2 separate regions of the Homo sapiens genome follow, and region 2 is linked to region 1. The links are contacts of gene promoters, found by promoter capture Hi-C in human tissues and cell types (Jung and others, 2019). All regions are on one chromosome and are shown on one strand. The core of a region is centred on a gene start or on the middle of the fragment in contact, and the rest is flanking DNA. Distances in the headings are between cores, read along the strand shown.

Region 1 (7,219 bases), core at 2,506-5,005:
TCGTGGAGCACATAGTTAGATGAACTCGCCCGAAGGGACTGTCTGGTGGGGGGAAAGTAAACAGTTCTATGTGCATGTCTAAAAAGTTAAGTAGAAAGCGGGGAAACATAGGGAAAGGGGAGAGGAAAAGAGAAAAAATAAATTAAAAAAAAACTATCTCTTAGAAAAATGGGGGTATTGGTTAGTGTGACTTTCCCAAACAGCCACCAAGGGGTTGGATAATGTAAGGAAGAAAAGCAAAGATGGTAGTTCTGCCTCAAACAAACTTTGGCCAAAGGGAAATAGAAGACAGAAGACAGCTAGGATACATTCTCCCTTTTCTCTCTTCCACGGACTAATATTTGTTGTGGCTTCCCCTTGTAACCCTTCTGGAAAAGTATGGAGAGCCAAGTGCATGCATCTGATGACCACCATGCTGTCTGTCTCACTAATTGTGAAGTGGCCACCAGCAAAATCATATCAACATCACGACACATGGTTTTACATCTTCTTTTGCCTCAGTTTCCACATTTACCCCTCATTGCTGCCCTGGACTTGCCTTCCCAAATAAATGTCATCACTGTAAACTCAGACATTGGCTCTAGTTTTAGACACCAAAAGCTAAGATATACATTCAGTTGCATCACTTTTCCATGCGTTTATAACATGGCAATTAAAACATTCATTTAGAAAGGATACTAAAAAAATATACAAATAATGTGTAAGAAAGGTGACTGGTTACAAACTCAATTTTTAAAAATGAAATGCCTTTTTGTGTATATGATAACCAGCTAGAAAATATCATAATACAAATATATCATTCATAGTAGAAAGTGATTAGGTACATTTCCAACCAACTTAATCAGTTGCAAAGTTTGCTAGCTTTTATTTTTACTTCTTTTGAGTTTACTTCTTTTGTATCAGCAAAGCATTGAAGGCAGCATAAGTCATACTGAAGGAGAAAGAGACGTTCCCTAAAAACAAAAGTGTGTTTGGCAGCTGCTGGGAAGTTCCCTAACATTCTTGTCATGGGGTCTGCTAGCCCCGAGCAGCTGGCACTCACAGGTGACCCTGACCCTGTGCAAATATACCAAAATCTTTAATATGCTTTTCAAAAAGCATTAGAATAAGTGCCATCTAATTTTGACGTTCCACCTTGTCTCTACTTCACACACCTGATATAGCTGCATCAAAGCTATATTACAGTGATATTTCCCCTAGAATTGTGGACTAGCCAAACTTTTGCTCTGAGAAATGCTTCTTCTTCAAAAAGCCTATAACCTCAACCTGAAAATAGAAAATTCAAGCAACTGCAGATTTTATGATGAGCTTCATTTTCACTGATTTACCACATCAAATTATCCATTTATCCAATCACTTATGTGTTCATTAACATATCATTTTTGACCAACTATTCTTTGTGCTGGCTTTTAGGTCCTGTGAGTCAAGAGAAAGCGAGACAGATATGACCTCTCTTTTTATGGTGATTACATTGTACTAGGGAGGACGTATGATAAGCGATATATATATATATATATATATATATATGTCTATAGATATAGATATAGATACATAGATATATATATGATGTGGAGTTAACTTATTTTAAGTTCTACATAATAATGTTAAAATTTCATAACACCAAGAATTAACACAGTCACACAGAATTTAGCTCTTCAACAAGGCTGTACATTTCCTTCTTATAATAGAACTTGGTATCAATGGATACATCAACACACTGTGTAATTTCACCATTTACACCATTATAATAATACATATCATTAATACATTTCCTATCAATTATATAGATTTCACAGATTTTTATGTAATTTTTACATAATTTTTAACATTTGAGGAAAGTTTCATTTGATTATCTTCTATAGTTTCTATACCCTCCTTTGATTGGCCTGTTTTTTTAAGATAGAGAATATTTGAGTTTTTTTGAGGAATATTAGGAATGGGAGACAAAGGAGAAAATTGGAAATTCAGGGGCTCAAGGTGGCTAAGAAAAACAAATGGAAATACTTGACATCAGATGTCAACTTCACAAAAGGTTTCCTTTAATTCAAAAAGTGGAAGCAATGACTTTTCTAACTACAGATAAAAAAATTATAACAGCACTGAAATGATCATCAGCATGTTTCTTCATTCCTATTATAGAAATGATTTTTATTCTAGGCTATTCACATACTGGTATTAAATCTAGTATTCTTTAGTACTGTTTTGGTATACATATACAAAATTTACTCTACATATGTTTTTCACTCCAATTTTATTGTGTGCATCATTAACTAACAACAATTCTATTTGCTTTCTACTAAGCATAAAATAAGAATTCATAATGAAATAAAACCTACCCCAAAGATCCATTCTTATCATTGATTTAAAATTGAATGTCTTTACCATCCAAAAAATTAGAGGTTCACCAATGATAGTTAAGCACATATATGTGGTACAAATTACAATGGAAAAGAGAAATGATTTCTTCATAAAAGCTGTACGTTCTTAATTATAAAGAGAGATAATAAATTCTTCAAATGAAATACTATACAATGAACTATAATAAAATATAAATACTATATATGTGAAATATACTCAGCTTCATAATTTATGGTCAACGTTGTTATTCACACACATGCACACATATACACCCATAAATATATATATGACTTTTCTAGGTATCTGTTTTGAAATTACTCACATACAAACACTATGGAAAAACTGATAGAAATATAAAATGTTCCAGACACCATCAGTTTGTTTTCTGCTAGAAGACCCACGATGCTCCCCTTGTGAATCTATGGAGTTGAGGGTTTCTCTTCTTTCACTCAGCGTGTCATCTGCCACAAAACTGAAAGAAAGGTCTGTTTTAGCTTCCTACTTCCCATAATCAGGATGAATGAGTGGAATGAAGGATACATGATTGCAACAGTTTGGCAAAGCAGGAGTACAAGTTTGCTCTGCTGTGTCCTAAGATTCCAAGTTGATGTGATTATACACAGAAAGTAAATGGCAAATAACATGAGGAAGGAGGTCACAGTTTGCAAAGCTTTTATATGGACCTTGGTGCTGGGATCTTGAGATCCTTTGCTATGGAGCCGCATCTTCTTGAGATGTTTACAAAGAGAACAGATTAACAGCAGAAAACATATTAGGCTCAGAGTAAAGGGTATGAGGTTTGCTAGAGTAGTTACAGTCAAGCTTGAAAGGTGTATTGCATTCCTCAATTTGATCTTCCAAGTCACATTTCCTTCATATTCTTTTGTCCACACTCTCTCATCCATGGTTATCACAGCAAGATTACAAATCAGAAATACCAAGGGCCCCAACAGTATCACCAGAACAACACTCTTAATTCTCTTCTTTAGGTGGAGAGAAATAAGGTTGGAGAAATTGGCAATCTTGAGCAAACAAAATATGCTGAGGCTAGCAGCAAGCCACATGCTGAAATGGTTCGTTACAGCCCAGGCATTAGAAGCAACAATTCTTACTTCTAAACCATATAAAGCAGAATTAAACACAGTTGCATACCAAAGGAATAACATGACCCAGAGTAAACCAATTCTGGAGACCACCAGAGCAGTGAGAATTTGCTCAGCTGAGGAGATCTTTCGTGTGTTAACCCAGTCAATGACATTTACTAGGGCTATGAAGCCATTGGCAACATTTCCAAGAACAAATGCAAACACTACCAGAATTGATGAAATGATGAGCAGAAAACACATCATGTTTGAACAGATAAAAAAATGCAGGCTTAGTAACACTTGTTCTGAGTCCTTTAACATCCAGATGTTAACTTCGATGAACACTTGATTACTAAATGTGCAATAACATTTTCTGCCTTTAAATTCAGTGACTAGTGTCAACAGGCAAGCACCAGCATATGCTAATAGATGAATTCAAAACTGTCTTTATAGAAATAGAAAAGGTCATTATTCTCAAAACAGCTCAAATTCACTCCTCTTCATATACATTCTCTCCTTGCTATATGCTGTACTTTTTTATACTGAGGTTGAAGTGGAAAATGAATTCTCATGTGTTAGTATGCAAAGAAAGGCATATTATTTTTCATTGTTTTGCAATTTTTTTCCTTGTTTAACCTCTCCATAATTTGTATACAGCATCTTCAGTTGTTCCATAGGGAAATTGTAAAACCCAATACATATATCATATAGTAAATGTCTAAATTGTTAAAGGAGCTTGGTCATAACTAGGATCATACCAATATGGACTTATTTTTATGCCAGATTTAAATACCAGATTCTAAACCTTTTATCAAAATCATCCAAGATTATCTTGGAAATCCCTGGGAGGCTGATACACTTTAAAATCTGGTTTCTGATAACCAATAAATTGATATGACATCATTGTTAATAAGCTCCTAAACACATAGACACACATGCACTCACACCCTTAGGGCATGGAAGGAATTATTTTCTTATAATTCCCCAAATGGAAAATGAGTTTCCAGGAACTCATCCAGGTGGTATTAGTCTTATTTTCCAACTCAGGGCTGTCAGACAATGAATAATATTTATCAAACATGTTTCTCAAGCTTAGGCCTTTGGTATATTTACACTCAAGTCTGTTTTGTTTAAACATTAATTATTTAATTAAAATGTTCAGCAATTTTGTAAATATTTCTAAGTACCCTACTCTTTGTCACATAATCCTGCAGTACCCTCCCACCTCAGGCAGGGTGACTACCTTGACCTTGGACTCTGAATTCACTCACGTAATTTGCTTCAGTCAACAGGAAATTAGTAGAATTTACAGAGATTTAAGATGGCTTCCATATTGAAGTTTCCTGCTCTTTTCCACTAACCATGAGGACATCATCTGGCTAGCACACTGTTCCCAGAAGAAGAAAGAGAAACTAATGGAGTCAGAATGCCACTGCCTTATCTACCCTAAATCAGCCAAACTAGCGGCAAGATGCAGTACGTGGCCCATCTCCAATCACCAGAGCCATCCACCAAACCTAGGTTAGAAAAATGTAATCCAAAGACATAATGATACACAATTATCTAACTCAGTTTTCTCTTGCAGAAAAACATAAGTGATGTAGGTATTCTGCTAAATCAGGAGTGTGGGAAATATGCCCACCATTGTTGTGTCAGGAATTCAGGATCGAAGGAAAAAATAGAGAATGTCCAAGTTTTGTCATATGAAGTGGGTAATTAAACCTAAAAGAAAAACCTATTCAGAAATCTGTGGTTGGCAGGTAACATCATGTCAAGTTTCCTAAAGTTGCAACTAAAATCAGAAAGTTTCTACTTAAAATCTCTTAGAGTTACACATGAATGTATACAAATAGTGGATTTTTCCCTTCAGTATATAATGAGCAGAGTAATAATAATTTTCATGGACCATTTCTCCTAATTAATAATTTTTATCATATAGCTAGACTGCACACTTAGAAATGAACCAAAACAAAAATGGAAAACATAGCAATGTGTCATAAACACTCATGTAACCATCATGTAGGGCAAGACATGGAACATTGCTAAGAGCCTAAGTTTACCTCAATGCCACTTTCTAATTCCCTACACCTTTCTTCATGTCTCCTGTGATAAGCAACATCCCTAATTTATGATGGTCTTTTTTTAATATTCTTTATACTTTACCAATAAGGTATTCGACCCTAAACTCAATAGCTTGGTTTGGCCTGATTTGATCTATGTATAGGTGCAATCCTATATGTTCTTATTCATGGCTTCCTGGAATCAACATTTTGTATCCAAAATTTAACCCCATCATTGCATGTACATGTGATCCATATCTTTTCACTTCTCTATATTTTTTTCATTTTTTGATTTTACTGTAATTATTTATCCATCCTTATTTGATATATATTTGGACAGCTTATTTTTTGAGCTTTTATGAATAATGCTACAATGAACATTCTTTCACATATCATTTGCTACAATTCCTCTGTGTATATATATCTGGGTGTAGAATTACAGGGTCCTTGATTATGATGTTCAAATTCTTCTCACAGACATAGAAAAGCCCAAAACACAGTTTGACTAAATTTATTCCTGTTACCTTTATCTCCAGCCTCTTTATTGCTATTTGCATATATCTTATCAATTATACATTCAATCCAAGAAGACACTATTGTTTTATATAGTCAACATTTATTTAGAATTACACACTTAGTTTTCATTGTCATTAATTTTTTTTTTTTTTTTTGAGACATAGTCTCCCTGTCACCCAGGCTGGAGTGCAGTGGCACGATCTCTGCTCACTGAAAGCTCCGCCTTCCGGGTTTAGCCATTCTCCTGCCTCAGCCTCCGGAGTAGCTGGGACTGCAGGTGCCCGCCACCACGCCAGGCTAATTTTTTTTTATTTTTAGTAGAGACGGGGTTTCACCGTGTTAGCCAGCATGGATTGTCATTAATTTGTAATGCTCCTTGCGTGTTCAACTTTGTATTTTCAGTAATTTTATTTTATCTGAAAAATATCATTTTCAATTTCTGTTTATGAAGGTCTACTACTCTTTGGAAACACATTGAAGACATGATTCCCATTAATCCATTGAATTCCTGCTTCCATGTTTTCTGTTAAAATCAGGTTGTATTTAGAATACAGTTCTTTTCAACATACTCTATCTTCTACCTCTAGCTACTTTTCAGATTTTCTATTGGTCTTTTGCGTCCTGTATTATTTTATGTTAATTTGGTTTTAGTTATCATGCCTGAAGTTTGAGATTACTAAAAATATATTCAGGGATACATTTTATACCTTTTGGAAAAATCCTTGCAACATTTCTCTTGCTCTATTTTCTCTCCTCTAATCTTACAGAACTCCAGAAGTATGTTAGGTGTTCTGTCTGTAGCATCAATGTGTTACCCTCTAGCTCTGTGTATTTCCATCTCTTCCCTTCTATGCTTCATTCTGTGTAGCTATCTTCCAATTCACTTATTCTCTCTTGTACTGTATCCAACTGGTTAACTCTGTCTATTGGATTCTCAATATTGATAATTCATTTTTTCAGTCTTATTGTTTTAGTGTTCAGAATAATCTTTTATTCTCCTTCCATAAATCATTTTCTATGGGGAAACTGAACAAACTACTCTTAACACCATGTTCTTTTTAAAAGTGTTTTTGACTTTTGGAGTTTTTAGTTTTTTGTTTTACTCGATACTGTTTTACTTGATGTTTAAGATACCGGTGAGAACTTATACTTGTTTTTTTTTCTTCTTCTGAGACACAGTCTCCCTCTGTTACCCAAGCT
Region 2 (7,214 bases), core at 1,572-4,071, 1.1 Mb after region 1:
ATAAAATAACAGGATGCTTTTTTCAGATGAAATCTTACATGGCATACCAAATATAGCAAGAAAAAAGAAAGAGAGAGAGAGAGGAGAGAGAAGCCGGGACAAGCTAAAGCAGAGGGTAGAGGGAGAAGGAACCGAGGAAGGGAAGGGTCAGGTCCCAGGCATTTCTCTTCCCTGAATTGGCCTCCCTCTTTTGCCACCTCCCCAGCAAGACCTTTAACTCCACAGTCCACAGCTCATTTTGAAATGTACTGATCAACGTGAGAAAATGCGAAGCTTCAGCCTGATAGTCAAAGACCACCATAATCTGGACCCAAGTGCTAGTTCACTTATTTTCCCTCCACTATTTTCAAGCCCTGGCTATTTGCAAACTGCATACGTATGCTGTCCCAGTTCTCTCACCACTCTTCAAACACATTCTGAATTCACCTATAATCTCCCCTCTGCCCGCCCTGTTGTAGCCCCAATATCCACCCACCTGTCTAACTCCTTCTAGCTTTCCAAAAGCTTTCACTTGCCTCTTTCTTTGAAGCTCACCTATCCCTGCCTTCTAACCTGGCTATCTGCATCTCTGTTAGACCTCTTACTTAGTTCATTAGTTCATTCTCTCTCTGTTGTTTTTTGTTTTTTGAGACGGAGTCTCACTCTGTCGCCAGGCTGGAGTGCAGTGGCGCAATCTCAGCTCACTACAACCCCCGACTCCTGGGTTCAAGCGATTCTTCTGCCGCAGCCTCCCAAGTAGCCGGGTCTACAGGCGTGCGCCACCATGCCTGGCTAATTTTTGTATCTTTAGTAGAGACGGGCTTTCACTGTATAGGCCAGGCTGGTCTTGAACTCCTGACCTCATGATCTGCCCGCCTTGGCCTCCCAAAGTTTTGGGATTACAGGCGTGAGCCACCGCACCCGGCAGTTCATTTTCTTTATGTGGAGTTATCTATGGCCATGTCTCTCTTCCCACCCTAGTAAGACTGTGGCTTTTCCCTCTCTACCCTCCAGCACAAACACAATAGATGTTCAATAAATGTTTCCTGAGTTTTCACCCCTGTCTCTCCTAACCTGCAAAGGGTAAGTGGCCCTGCATAGAAGGGCACAGTGTGGACTTTGTTGTTACAGGCCCAACATGTGTAGCACCAGTGGGTGTGACCTGGAAGAAATCCCCCTAGATGATGATGACCTAAACACCATAGAATTCAAAATCCTCGCCTACTACACCAGACATCATGTCTTCAAGAGCACCCCTGCTCTCTTCTCACCAAAGCTGCTGAGAACAAGAAGTTTGTCCCAGAGGGGCCTGGGGAATTGTTCAGCAAATGAGTCATGGACAGAGGTGTCATGGCCTTGCAGAAATTCCCAATCCAGTGAGAAGGCCATAAACCTTGGCAAGAAAAAGTCTTCTTGGAAAGCATTCTTTGGAGTAGTGGAGAAGGAAGATTCGCAGAGCACGCCTGCCAAGGTCTCTGCTCAGGGTCAAAGGACGTTGGAATACCAAGATTCGCACAGCCAGCAGTGGTCCAGGTGTCTTTCTAACGTGGAGCAGTGCTTGGAGCATGAAGGTAGGCATCTGGGATTTCTTTCTCTCCCGCTTCCTGGTTTTTCCCTTCTTTGTGTCCAGAGTGGTACATCTCTTCTCATGTTGTAAAGTGGCTTTAGAGAAGGCATGCGTTGTGCCTCAGCTTTCCAACTTATTAGTGTTCAATCATAATTGCCCTGCTTTTCTCAAGACTAAAAGGAGTTGCTGCCTGGGCGCGGTGGCTCACGCCTGTAATCCCAGCACTCTGGGAGGCCAAGGCGGGTGGATCATGAGGTCAGGAGATTGAGACCATCCTGGCTAACACGGTAAAACCCCGTCTCCACTAAAAAATACAAAAAATTAGCCGGGCGTGTTGGCGGGTGCCTGTAGTCCCAGCTACTCGGGAGGCTGAGGCAGGAGAATGGCGTGAACCCAGCAGGCGGAGCTTGCAGTGAGCCAAGATGGCATCACTGCACTCCAGCTTGGGTGACAGAGTGAGACTCCGTCAAAAAAAAAAAAATGACTAAAAGGAAATGATGGAAGTTAAGGGTGCTGGGACTGGTTTTCTTTCTCCACTGTCTATAAATAAGCTTGTTTCCCAAATTCCTAGTCCTCTGTACCAGACACCAATATAAAAGAAGGAGGCTAGGCGCAGTGGCTCATGCCTGTAATTCCAGCACTTTGGAAGGTTGAGGTGGGCAGATCATAAGGTCAGGAGTTCAAGACTAGCCTGGCCAACATAGTGAAAACCCGTCTCTACTAAAGATACAAAAAATTAGCCGGGCATGGTGGCGCATGCTTGTATTCCCAGCTACTCGGGAGGCTGGGGCAAGAGAATCGCTTGAACCTGGGAGGCGGAGGTTGCAGTGAGCCGAGATTGCATCACTGCACTCCAGCCTGAGCTACAGGGTAAGACTTTGTCTCAAAAAAAAAAAAAAAAAAGAACGAGCCCTAACCAGGGGCTTGCTTGGGCTGCCTGGGCCGCTGCTCTTCCTAAGTCAACTCATTCGCTCAGGGCCTCTGTGTTTCCATCTGTACATTGGGTACCCCACTCTCTCCACCTCGTATGGTTGATGGGAAGATCAGAGAGCAAGAGTAAAAGGACTCTTGACAAAGTACAAACCATCCTACAAAAACAACTGAGAAGCATTTAGACAAAATCTTCCCTCAGTTGGACAAAATTAATTGTACTTAATGAAACATTTTCACCAGGCACTGAGGCTCATACCTGTAATCCCAGCACTTTGGGAGGCCAAGGTGGGTGGATCGGTTGAGCTCAGGAGTTCAAGACCAGCCTTAGCAACATGGCAAAACCCTGTCTCTACCAAAAAATACAAAAAAATTAGTCAGACATGGTGGTGCACGCCTGTGGTCCTGGCTACTCGGGAGGCTGAGGTGGGAGGATGGCTTGAGCCTGGGAAGTAGAGGTTGCAGTGAGCCAAGATGATGCCACTGCACTCCAGCCTGGGTGACAGAGTGAGAGCCCATCACGTCGATACTCTCAGCACTGTGGGAAACCAAGGCAGGAGGATCACTTGACACCAAGAGTTTGAGATCAGCCTGGCATCATAGCAAGACCCTGTCTCCATTAAAAAATTAAAATAAAAAAATTAGCGAGGCATGGTGGCACATGCCTGTTGTCCCAGCTACTATGGAGGCTGAGGTGGAAGGATCACTTGAGCTCAGGAGGTCAAGGCTGCAGTGAGCGAAGATCACATCACTGCACCCCAGCTCTGGGTGACATAATGAGACTCTGTCTCCAAAAAAAAAAAAAAAAAGACAGTTGCCCTTCATGCGCACACCTTGGCATAAGCATCTTCTTCCCCTTCAACAAAGCCCAGTGCCCAAAGCCCAGATTTTTTTTTTTTTTTTAAGGTGTTTTAGATGGAGTCTTGCTCTGTCGCCCAGGCTGGAGTGCTGTGGTGTAATCTCGGCTCACTGCAAGCTCCGCCTCCCAGGTTCAAGCAATTCTCCTGCCTCAGCCTCCTGAGTAGCTGGGATCACAGGCGCGCACCACCAGGCCTGGCTAATTTTTGTATTTTTAGTAGAGACAGCGTTTCACCATGTTGGTCAGGCTGGCCTCGAACTCCTGACCTCGTGATCTGCCCACCTTGGGCTCCCGAAGTGCTGGGATTACAAGTGTGAGCCACTGCACCCAGCCGCAAAGCCAGATTTTAAAAGAAAGGCCCCCTCCTGCTGAGTTTCATTGGCCTGGGTAACTTGTCAATAATTAGTCAAGAGGTGGCAGTAATGTCTCAGTTTTTAAATGTGACAGTCCTGGCTTGCTTGGAGAATCAGCCCACTCATAGACAGCTTTAGATCACTCACTATGATCAAGGAAACTCCCTTTTCCCATTAGAGTTTCAGATGTTTAGAACAGTGGGAGTTATGGTCAGGATCATCTGAGGGAACCTCATGGCACAGACAGGATGAGGAAATGGGAGTCCCACAAAAAGGGCTTACCAAGGAAACATCCAGGAAGTAGCAGAGCCTGGACTCACCAGAAGTCCAGGCCTCTCCCTAGACTTGTTTCATTTTTACAGCAAGGCATCTGCTCTCTGAACTCTGCCCAGCTAGGGCAGGTCTAGGGCAAGAGGGAGCGGCCCCCTGTGGTCCTTCCCTCCACATCTGCCTCCCCACCCCTCAGCTGCCCTCACCCAGCCATGGCTTCTTCTGCCGGGGGTGGCATCTGGGCTCTGGGGCAAAGAACAGTTTGGAGGCACCTAAATAGGCTTTTCTACTTGGCCTGTACTGTGGACTTTGCCAGCAGACAGAGAAAGCTTTTACAGACCTTAGTCTTCTGGTTTTTCCTGAGATAAATTGCATTCTGTATTTCAGTATTTACTGGAGTGTCATTTGACATTTTTTTTATTTTCTAAAATTTCAAGAGAAGCTTTTATTTCTTTTTTCAGTAGGGAAAGAAAACTTTTATGTGAGATTGAGAATTAAAGATTACATTCAAAAACACTTAGGTGATGTGTTAATGTGCTGAATAGCTGAATAGTACCTATGGCTGAATAATATTCTCCATAAAAAATGAAAAATGATTACCTCCTAAGAAGGCTTTAAACACATATTTACAGCTTATCTTCCCTTATCACCTTTCTCCTCACGCTTGCATTTAGTCAGTTAATTGTGTGTTTTTTACTTGTGTTACTTGTGTCGGTTTTACATTGAGCGTGATCCAAGAGAGCCTCACATTCTATTTCTATTTTGCCACATACAAATCAGGCCTTGCAAATTTGGTTTCTCCTGGGTTCTTTTTTGTTTGTTTGTTTGTTGTTTTTGAGACAGAGTCTTGCTCTGTCACCCAGGCTGGAGTGCAGTGGCCTGATCTCGGCTCACTGCAACCTCTGCCTCCTGGGTTCACACCATTCTCCTGCCTCAGCCTCCCGAGTAGCTGGGACTACGGGCGCCCACCACCACGCCCGGCTAATTTTTTGTATTTTTAGTAGAGACAGGGTTTCATCGTGTTAGCCAGGATGGTCTCGATCTCCTGGCCTCGTGATCTGTCCGCCTCAGCCTCCCAAAGTGCTGGGATTACAGGCGTGAGCCACCGTGCCTGGCCTCACCTGGGTTATTTTAACTGTAAGTCACTATGTAGCCTTGTACAGCCACTGCCAGGCCTCAGTACCGGGCTTACATGGGAACTGTGAGATTATGTCCCAAGACCAAACTCTGTTAGGAAGAGGCCTCAGGATGCAGAGAAATGGACAATAACACCAGTTTTAAAGACTACCAACCCAGGCTCTTTCACTTGTGAATCTTTTGTTTCTCCATAGCTACGATTTGCTCACGTGGAATGTTATAGTTAAGGTGAGGTTCAGCGATATACAGTGGAACACTCAAATACCCATGGCTTAAATAATATACAGGTTTGCTTTTCTCTCCTTTAAAAGAGGACAAAAGTTTGGCAGCTCAGGCATGATATGACAGCTCCACAAAGTTATTAAGAATTTCTGGGAATGGCCAGGCAGGGTGGCTCATGCCTATAATCCCAGCCCTTTGGGAGTCTGAGGTGGGCAGATCACTTGAGCCAAAGAGTTTGAGACCAGCCTGAGCAACATGACAAAACCCCGTCTCTATTAAAAAAAATACAAAAATTAGCCAGGCGCCATGGTGCGCGCCTGCAGTCTCAGCTACTCGAGAGGCTGAAGGAGGAGAATCACTTGAGCCTGGGAGGCGCAGGTTGCACTGAGCTGAGATCACACCATTGCACTCCAGCTTGGATGACGGGGTGAAAAAAAGAATTCCTGGGAATTCTGCCATCCCTCAGCTCGTGGCTTCCACCTCAAAGTCACCTTATATTCTAAAGGTGGCTGTTGGGGCTTCACCCATCATGTCTACATCTCAGGCAAGAATAAAAAGGAAGCAAAGGAAGGGCAAAGGGTGCCTTCTTTCTAGGTAATTCAGCTCCCTTTTATTTTATTATTATTTTTTAATCTTTTGTAAAGATGGGGTCTGTGTTACCCAGGCTGGTCTCGAACTCCTGGCCTAAAATGATGGCCTCGCCTTGGCCTCCCAAAATGCTGGGATTACGGGCGTGAGCCACCGCACCCAGCCTTAGCTCCCTTTTCGAGAGCTTTCTTGAAACTGCCCCCAGCTTCTGACATCTCATTGGCCCTTCCCTACTGCAAGGGAGCCCAGGGAATATAGTTTGTTCAGCTGGGTTCATTGCTGCCCCTCACATTTTAGAGGTCTGTTACTAAGGAAGAAGAAGAAAGTGGATACTGAGTGGGAAAGAGCAGTCCATAAGGAAGTCACACCCCAACCCCCTGCCCTTTCTCTTTAAAACAAATGCCTCAGACCACAGGCGAAATGGGACCTTCCGACCCTGTTGGCCTGCTCTTCCTGGCGCCACGATGACCCCCAAAACAGACTCCAAGGAACAGACAGCCTTTCTGTCTTCTCCCCACCCCATCCAGTGTTCCCTCGCCTATCAGACAGGACCAAGTCTGACAAGGATATAATCTTTTCTTTTTCATGTTTTAAAATTAAAATATCCAAGATGGGAATTTTAACTAGAGCTAGTGCATCTGTGGGAACATGTTTGCTTATAGTTTCTCCTGGACATGTCTCACTCCATGTCCACAAACCCACAGAAATCAATACCCTGCTGTAACCCCAGCACTTTGGGAGGCTGAGGCAGGAGGATCACCTGAGGTCAAGAGTTCAAGACCAGCCTGGCCAACATGGCAAAACCCTGTCTCTACTGAAAATATACAAAAATTAGCTGGACGTAGTGGCGGGAGCCACTACGTCCTGTAATCCCAGCTACACAGGAGGCTGAGGCAGAGAGAATGGCTTGAACCCAGAAGGTGGAGGTTGCAGCGAGCCGAGATCGTGCCATTGCACTCCAGCCTGGGCAACAGAGCGAGACTCCGTCTCAAAAAAAAAAAAAAAAAAAAAGTCAATACCCTGTACACAGTTAGCCAGATTGAGTAATTTTGTACCTGTTGGTGATCTTGTGGCCACCCTGCCTTATGAGAGGAGGAGGGGACAGAGCCTTTGGGACCCTTCATGGAGCTTCTTAATGTGCAAGATGGGCACAGGGTGCTTTCTGGTGGTAGAACCGCATGCTGATTACCCTAGATGAGCTGCACAAGGTTGAAAAGGCAGCAGAGGCCTGCTTTCCTTTCTCATCTCCTGAGGACATGGCCAGGGAAGTTTCCCTTGGCTTTGGAAGATAGCCTCTTGCCATTTCTTT

What was found. Contacts are between HindIII fragments. The study calls those that stand out against the background at their distance.
Region 2: a fragment that was not itself captured here is called in contact with the fragment with the promoter of TAS2R19 in region 1 in 1 of the 25 tissues and cell types used here (stomach).

The regions. Positions count from the first base shown.
Region 1 is chr12:11,018,865-11,026,083 of GRCh38, forward strand. TAS2R19 (taste 2 receptor member 19) reads right to left here and starts at 3,756. Exons shown (of 1, transcript NM_176888.2): 1 at 2,755-3,756. The coding sequence starts at 3,707. The coding sequence ends at 2,808. The region is part of intron 3 of PRH1-TAS2R14 (PRH1-TAS2R14 readthrough); the gene reads right to left. All of the region lies in intron 3 of PRH1-PRR4 (PRH1-PRR4 readthrough), which reads right to left. It also overlaps a transcript of PRH1 not described here. The HindIII fragment of the contact is 6,813 bases long and covers 1,351-7,219 here.
Region 2 is chr12:12,078,189-12,085,402 of GRCh38, forward strand. BCL2L14 (BCL2 like 14) reads left to right here. Exons shown (of 6, transcript NM_138723.2): 2 at 1,111-1,550. The coding sequence starts at 1,118. Among named protein-coding and RNA genes, the nearest start is that of BCL2L14, 11 kb to the left of the region's middle. RefSeq lists a silencer at 3,647-3,941. The HindIII fragment of the contact is 3,043 bases long and covers 1,301-4,343 here.